Linked DNA regions of Homo sapiens: region 1 is linked to region 2. Evidence: promoter capture Hi-C in human tissues and cell types (Jung and others, 2019). All regions are on one chromosome and are shown on one strand. The core of a region is centred on a gene start or on the middle of the fragment in contact, and the rest is flanking DNA. Distances in the headings are between cores, read along the strand shown.

Evidence for each region. Contacts are between HindIII fragments. The study calls those that stand out against the background at their distance.
Region 1: a fragment that was not itself captured here is called in contact with the fragment with the promoter of HSD3B2 in region 2 in 2 of the 25 tissues and cell types used here (neural progenitor cells and psoas muscle).

What each region holds. Positions count from the first base shown.
Region 1 is chr1:119,500,879-119,505,325 of GRCh38, forward strand. No RefSeq gene overlaps it. Among named protein-coding and RNA genes, the nearest start is that of HSD3B1, 4.1 kb to the right of the region's middle. RefSeq lists a promoter at 3,451-4,447 and an enhancer at 3,743-3,814. The HindIII fragment of the contact is 8,718 bases long and covers 1-4,447 here.
Region 2 is chr1:119,412,663-119,417,034 of GRCh38, forward strand. It overlaps HSD3B2 (hydroxy-delta-5-steroid dehydrogenase, 3 beta- and steroid delta-isomerase 2), which reads left to right and starts at 2,488. Exons shown (of 4, transcript NM_000198.4): 1 at 2,488-2,540; 2 at 2,669-2,899. The coding sequence starts at 2,758. RefSeq lists promoters at 1,415-2,541, 1,965-2,682 and an enhancer at 2,255-3,454. The HindIII fragment of the contact is 6,350 bases long and covers 1-3,541 here.

The sequences.
Region 1 (4,447 bases), core at 330-2,829, 87 kb after region 2:
ATCAACAAAATTGATAGACCACTAGCAAGACTAATAAAGAAGAAAAGAGAGAAGAATCAAATAGACGCAATAAAAAATGATAAAGGGGATACCACCACCAATCCCACAGAAATACAAACTACCATCAGAGAATACTATAAACACCTCTACACAAATAAACTAGAAAATCTAGAAGAAATGGATAAATTCCTCAACACATACACCCTCCCAAGACTAAACCAGGAAGAAGTTGAATCTCTGAATAGACCAATAACAGGCTCTGAAATTGTGGCAATAATCAATAGTTTACCAACCAAAAGGAGTCCAGGACCAGATGGATTCACAGCCAAATTCTACCAGAGGTAGAAGGAGGAGCTGGTACCATTCCTTCTGAAACTATTCCAATCAATAGAAAAAGAGGGAATCCTCCCTAACTCATTTTATGAGGTCAGCATCATCCTGATACCAAAGCTGGGAAGAGACACAACCAAAAAAGAGAATTTTAGACCAATATCCTTGATGAACATTAATGCAAAAATCCTCAATAAAATACTGGCAAACCGAATCCAGCAGCACATAAAAAAGCTTACCCACCATGATCAAGTGGGCTTCATCCCTGAGATGCAAGGCTGGTTCAACATACGCTAAATCAATAAATGTAATCCAACGTATAAAAAGAACCAAAGACAAAAACCACATGATTATCTCAATAGATGCAGAAAAGGCCTTTGACAAAATTCAACAACTCTTCATGCTAAAAACTCTCAATAAATTAGGTATTGATGGGACGTATCTCAAAATAATAAGAGTTATCTATGACAAACCCACAGCCAATATCATACTGAATGGGCAAAAACTGGAAGCATTCCCTTTGAAAACTGGCACAGGACAGGGATGCCCTCTCTCACCACTCCTATTCAACATAGTGTTGGAAGTGCTGGCCAGGGCAATTAAGCAGGAGAAGGAAATAAAGGGTATTCAAATAGAAAAAGAGGAGGTCTAATTGTCCCTTTTTGCAGGTGACATGATTGTATATCTAGAAAACCCCATCGTCTCAGCCCAAAATCTCCTTAAGCTGATAAGCAACTTCAGCAAAGTCTCAGGATACAAAATCAATGTGCAAAAATCACAAGCATTCCTAAACACCAATAACAGACAAACAGAGAGCCAAATCATGAGTGAACTCCCATTCACAATTTCTTCAAAGAGAATAAAATACCTAGGAATCCAACTTACAAGGGATGTGAAGGACCTCCTCAAGGAGAACTACAAACCACTGCTCAATGAAATAAAAGAGGATACAAACAAATGGAATAACATTCCATGCTCATGGGTAGGAAGAATCAATGTCTTGAAAATGGCCATACTGCCCAAGGTAATTTATAGATTCAATGCCATCCCCATCAAGCTACCAATGACTTTTTTCACAGAATTGGAAAAAACTACTTTAAAGTTCATATGGAAACAAAAAAGAGCCTGCATCGCCAAGTCAATCCTAAGCCAAAAGAACACAGCCAGAGGCAACACGCTACCTGACTTCAAACTATACTAAAAGGCTACAGTAACCAAAACAGCATGGTACTGGTACCAAAACAGAGATATAGATCAATGGAACAGAACAGAGACCTCAGAAATAATGCCACATATCTACAACTATCTGATCTTTGACAAACCTGACAAAAACAAGAAATGGGGAAAGGATTCCCTATTTAATAAATGGTGCTGGGAAAACTGGCTAGCCATGTGTAGAAAGCTGAAACTGGATTCCTTCCTTACACCTTATATGAAAATTAATTCAAGATGGGTTAAAGACTTACATGTTAGACCTAAAACCATAAAAACCCTAGAAGAAAACTTAGGCAATACCATTCAGGACATAGGCATGGGCAAGGACTTCATGTCTAAAACACCAAAAGCAATGGCAACAAAAGCCAGAATTGACAAATGGGATCTACTGAAACTAAAGAGCTTCTGCACAGCAGGAGAAACTACCATCAGAGTGAACAGGCAACCTACAAAATGGGAGAAAATTTTCACAACCTCCTCATCTGACAAAGGGCTAATATCCAGAATCTACAATGAACCCAGACAAATTTACAAGAAAAAAACAAACAACCCCATAAAAAAGTGGGCAAAGGATATGAACAGACACTTCTCAAAAGAAGACATTTATGCAGCCAAAAAACACATGAAAAAATGCTCATCATCACTGGCCATCAGAGAAATGCAAATCAAAAGCACAATGAGACACCATCTCACACCAGTTAGAATGGCAATCATTAAAAAGTCAGGAAACAACAAGTGCTGGAGAGGATGTGGAGAAATAGGAACACTTTTACAATGTTGGTGGGACTGTAAACTAGTTCAACCATTGTGGAAGTCAGTGTGGTGATTTCTCAGGGATCTAGAACTGGAAATACCATTTGACCCAGCCATCCCATTACTGGGTATATACCCAAAGGATTATAAATCATGCTGCTATAAAGACACATGCACACGTATGTTTATTGTGGCACTATTCACAATAGCAAAGACTTGGAACCAACCCAAATGTCCAACAATGATAGACTGGATTAAGAAAATGTGGCACATATACGCCATGGAATACTATGCAGCCATAAAAAATGATGAGTTCATGTCCTTTGTAGGGACGTGGATGAAGCTGGAAACCATCATTCTCAGCAAACTATTGCAAGGACAAAAAACCAAACACCGCATGTTCTCACTCATAGGTGGGAATTGAACAATGAGAACACATGGACACAGGAAGGGGAACATCACACTCCGGGGACAGTTGTGGGGTGGGGGGAGGGGGGAGGGATAGCATTTGGAGATATACCTAATGCTAAATGCCGAATTAATGGGTGTAGCACATCAACATGTCACATGTACCTGCACATTGTGTACATGTACCCTAAAACTTAAAGTATAATAATAATAAAATAAATAAATAAATAAACAATTGAAAGAAGTGAAAAACAATGATGTGAAAAATTGAACTACTCTTGCAGTGTTGATGGGACATGCAGCCACATTGGAAAACAGATTGCCAGTTCCTTAAAATGTTAAATATACATTTACCTTATGATCTAGCACTTTCACTCCTAGCTGTCTACCCCAAAGAAACAGAAACCTATGTCCACACAACACATGAATGTGAATATTCATAGCAGCTTTATCCATAATAGTCCATAAAGTGGAAACACATCAAATATCGATCAATTGATGAATGAATAAACAAATGGGAGCCATCCATACAATTTAATAGGGTTTGGCACCTAAAAGGAGTAAAATATTGATACGTGCTACAACATAGATGAACCACAAAAGAACATTAAGCTGGCCAGGTGTGGTGACTCACACCTGTAATCCCAGCACTTTGGGAGGCCAAGGTGGGTGGATCATTTGGGGTCAAAAGTTTAGATCAGCCTGGCCAACATGATGAAATCCCGCCTCTACTAAAAATACAAAAATTACCCAGGCATGGTGGCAGGTGCCTGGAGGCTGAGGCAGGAGAATCACTTGAACCCGGAAGTGGAGGTTGAAGTGAGCCAACATCGCACCACTGCACTCCAGCCTGGGCAACAGAGCAAGACTCTGTCTCAAAAAAAAAAAAAAGTATATTAAGCTAAGTGAAAGAATAGAAATACAAAGACCAAATATTCTATGATTCCATTTATATAATGTCTAGAAAAGGCAAATCTGTAAAGTCAGTGAGTCAATTAAAGGTTGCCTTGAGCTGTGAGTAAGAGTAAGGAATGGTGACTGATGAGCACGAGGGATTTCTTAGGAATGATAGAAATGTTGGAAAACAGGATTACAGTGATGGTCCACACAAGTATAAAATTTTACTAAAAATAATTGAACTGTACACTTAAAACAAGCAAATGTGATGTCAATTATACCTCAGTAAACCTATTTAAAAATAAAAGAAAGTTGGTAGTATGGTTCCCAATCACTCTGGACCTTTGTTTTATTTCTCCCTTTCTTTAGGGCTTATATTTATTGCTTCCACTCAGAGACTCCAAGACACATGAGCTGAAATCTACGAGCCTCCAGAACGTTCAACAGCTGAAAGAAAGTCCAGCCCCACACTGAAGGCGATGGGGGATCTTTAAGGTGCTCTCCAGCACTGCTACAGCAGGCAAAGGCATGCGATGCACCTGGGTAGTTTCAGATAGTACTCCACAAGTCTCAGCAAGACCCAGGGCCTGTAAATAGTTCTGATAGTTTCAGAGAACAAGCTGCTACATCTTGTAGCACAAGGCCAACCTTTCCTAGGCAAGTGGTTTTGAAGCATTGGTAGTGAGGTCCAAAGTAGAAGATGAATGTCTACAACATGGAGGAGGGCAAGACCCAGAGTGGGGTGTCAAACTAAATCATTTGTAGAGTATTACTTTCAACAACTGCAGAAAGCATTCTTTTCAAGTGCTTATGGCATGTTCACCAATGTAGACCATATGCTGGA
Region 2 (4,372 bases), core at 1,238-3,737:
ATGAAACACATAAGTATATTAAGCTATGTGAAAGAAGGCAGATGCAAAAGACCACATATTACATGATTCTAGTTATATGGTGTCCAGAAAATCAAATCTGTGGAGTCAGGAAGTCATGAGGGCTGCCTAGAGCTGGGGGCTGGGAATAAGAGGTGGCAAATGATAAGCATGAGGGATTTCTTAGGAAAGATAGAAATGTTCCAAAACAGGATTGTGATGATGGTTACACAAGTCTAAAATTTTACTAAAAATAATTGAACTGTACACTTAAAATGGGAATGTTATAATATGTCAATTATACTTCAGTAAAGCTGTTTAAAAACAGAAAGTTGGTAGTGTGGCCCCCAGCAGCCTTGCTCTTTGTCCTACTGCTCACTTTCCTAAAGAAAGCAAAATATTTATTGGTTTAAAGAAAGCTTACAGTTATTGCTTCCACTCAGACTCCAAGAGACACTGCCTGAACTCTAAGAGCCTCCAGAACTCTCAACAGCTGAAGGAACATTTGGTCCCACCCTGAAGGTCATGGGGGTCTGTAAGGTGCACTCCAGCATCTGATATGGCAGGCAAAGGTGTGTGATGCACCTGGGTGGTTTCAGATAGTGCTCCACAAGTCCCAGGGCCCGTGTCTAGTTCTGAGAGCTTCAGAAGACAAGCTGCTACACCTTGCATCACAGGACCAACCTTTCCTAGGCAAGTGGGTTTGAAGCATTGGCAGCCAGGTTCCAAGTAGAAGGTGAATGTCTACACACAGGAGAAAGGCAAGACCCAGAATGGGGAGTCAAGCTAAATCATTTGTAGAGTATGACTTCCAACAACTTCAGAAAGCATTCTTTTGAAGTGCTTATGGCATTTCCACCAACATAGACCATAGGCTGGACCATAAAACAAATCTCAATATATATCAAAGAATCAAAATCATACAGAGTATATGCTCTGGCCACAATAATATTTAATTAGAAATACATAACAATAAGAAAATCCCCAGTTTTAGAAAACATGCAACATGCTTCTCAATAACACTTGGGTCAAAGAAGACATCACAAGAAAAAATTCAAAACGTCAGTAACTGAATAATGATAACCCAATGCATCAAAATGTTGGATACAGCTAACATAGTGTTTAGAGAGAAATTTACAACTTTAAATGCCTATGGTGGAAATGAGCAAAGAAGTAAAGTCAATTATCTATGCTTTTATCATAAGAACCCTGAAAAAGAAGAGTAAAATAAACCCAAAGTTAATAAACATTTAAGCCAATAATAAAAATAATGAAAATCATGAAATAGAAAAATGAACAAACAATAGAGACAATCAGTGGTCAATTTTTCTGTACTCCATGAACAAAACTTCAGTTCAGAATGATTTTATATTTAAATATATATCCAGAATCACAAAGATCTTAGAAGAAAAAATTAGGAAAATATAGGAATAAAGTGGGAACTCTGTGGGAATAAAAATCAGAAAGTAATTGCCTACCAGGTAAACTCGGGGGAGGGCAGGCAATTGACTAAGAACAGGCAGATAAAACTTTCTGGAGTGAAGGAAATGGTGGTCTTCTTTTCGTTGGTACTTACATGGACATATATAACTGTCAAGGTTCATTGACAATGAACACTTAAGTGTACACTGAACGCTTAAGATCTGGGCCTTGTAATGCCCAGATTACATCTACTTAAAAAAACTACATCTCTATTTTTTTAAGTAGAGAAAAGTGTCTTGGGGAGTTTATGGCAGTGATGTTTGGGCAGACTGGGGCATAGGTTTCAGAAGCATTCATAGCATCTTCAGTTCAACAATTTGCTAAGAATGGTTTTGCAGCCAAAAATGTAAGATGAGTGCAAATATCTATGATTAGAGTCATTGGGCATACAACTACAAATCCCCACACTTGTATTACAGGCCATATGATTAATTCGTTATCACTAGATACCTTTCCTTCAATGAGGTTCTTCCATTAGGAACCCAGAGCTCTCCAGGGAAAAATTGCAATTGAGGTTTTGGATATATTGGGTGGAAAAGAAAGTCACCTCACATAAAACTTAGTGATTGGAGCTGTCACCATTGAAAATTTCTAAACTTTGCAAGACAGCAGTGACGTTTCAAATGACACTCTCAGAGAGTTGATAATGGGCTAAAATAGATCTCCCTCCAGGTGGATTTACTGTACAAGGACAACATTTACATTGCACTTGGAGACTTCTCCCAGTTTGGTTTAAGTTCACAGATTGCAGATCCCAGACAGCTGGTATCAACTGACCAGTGTTCTGTTAAGGCTAAAGCCAAGACTCTTTATCACACTGTGGCCTTAAGATTGGATTTCTCTTCCTGTTCCTGGGAAGAATTAGAGATATAACCTAAAGGTCACTATTATTCTGAGAAAAGGGATTCTGGAGGAGGAGGGAGCAATGAGTATGTGGCAGGAGTTCAAGGTAATAAGGGCTGAGACACAAGCCACAGAGCATAAAGCTCCAGTCCTTCCTCCAGGGATGAGGCAGTAAGGACTTGGACTCCTCTGTCCAGCTTTTAACAATCTAAGTTACGGTTAGAGCTTTCTCCTTTTCTTTCAACTACTCCTGGCAGTTGTGGGGTCATGGAATTTTTGTAAAAAATGGGGTGGAGGAAAATAAGGCATCTGCTGAGTGTATAACCATTTTACCTCTTGTTTTTAGCCCTCTTCTGGGTCACGCTAGAATCAGATCTGCTCTCCAGCATCTTCTGTTTCCTGGCAAGTGTTTCCTGCTACTTTGGATTGGCCACGATGGGCTGGAGCTGCCTTGTGACAGGAGCAGGAGGGCTTCTGGGTCAGAGGATCGTCCGCCTGTTGGTGGAAGAGAAGGAACTGAAGGAGATCAGGGCCTTGGACAAGGCCTTCAGACCAGAATTGAGAGAGGAATTTTCTAGTAAGTAAACTTGAGTCATGGGTCTGTGGCTCCATCTTAAACTCTGCATGGGTGTGGGGAGGTTGACCTTGTCTAGCAAGTTAAGGAAAGTTGTAGCCAAATGAAAGCCAGTCACACATCTAAAGTCATCAGAAAGGAAATAGAATAAAATGGTATAGTGTGAAAGATACTGGATGGGGTGTCCAGAGACTGGATTCTGGCCCTGACGCAGAACTTGAGAGGCAGCCATGTCAGCCTCAAGGCCCCTTTTCTTCTCTTCTAGAGAGTCACACATGAGTTCTCCTTCTTGTCTACAACTCTTATGTTCTGAAGCTTTTTGTCTTGGCGATTGCTGTGCGACATTCACAAAGGACATCATTTACCTGGAGACCTCACCAGTGGGTCCTGCCTGTCTAGACTGCCCCAGGCTTCATTTCATTTTATAGCTTCCTTAGTATCTTTAGTGAGGGCAAAATAAAAGGAAGTGAAGGTACGGATGTGTGTGTAATTGTGTGTGTGTGTCAGACAGAGAAAGAAAATGAGGGGGAAAGAAGGTCAGAGACAGAGAATGAGAAAGACAGAGAATGAATGAGAAAGATAGTGTGAGGGAGAGCATCAGCAAGAGAGAGAGAGTGAAAGTGAGAGAGATCATCAGTGAGAGAGAGAGAAAGAGAGAAAGAGAGCATGCACAAGTGCACGGCACAGAGCAGAGACAGAGTAAAAGGCAGTATGAGGCCAACATGCCTCATTTATATTTCTCATATATAGCCTTTTTAAAAAAAAACCATTTGTATCTGTTGTTCAATACTCCAAATAAATTGACTGCAGAATTTGCTGTAGTAACTCTTTGTGCAAATAACCCTGTGAGGAAGGTAGAAAAGGGGTCACCTCCAACTGGACAATGAACCCATCAAGTTCCAGAAACATAAAGTTACTTGCCAAGAACAGCTGATTAATGTGTAGCAGAGCTCAGACCAGAGCTTCATTCCAGAAGCTTCATCACTTGACCCCCGGGCTAATCCTTGGTGGGTCTTCAGTCTCTCCCTTTGCCTCTCTGTGTGCCCCAAACCAATTCCATGTTTTCCTCCCAACCCAGGGGACTGGGGGAACTATGTATCTTCTTCATGCAGGTTCTGGCTGCCTAGAAGGTCCTGCCCTGTTCACACAGAAGCTCCCCTTGACACTCTCCTCTTCTTTCACTCTTCTCTGACCTCTTTAAATGTCCAATTTCCTCCACTCTCTGTTCTAATAGTGAACAGATATTAACACATGACTGATATTAAATGTTTGTAATCCTTATGTCTCAGCAATATTTACAATCTAACATCTGATACCAGGAAAAAGCAATGCTCAGTCTAGAGGAAGAGTTCTGCTATGGTGAAAATGCAGGGAGCATAATGGATGGGCAGGGCCTGTATGAAGATAAAAACAGAGAATCCTTTCAGTGTTCTTTCTGTGCCAGGCACTGTGCTAAAGGTTTTGCATGTGCTGACT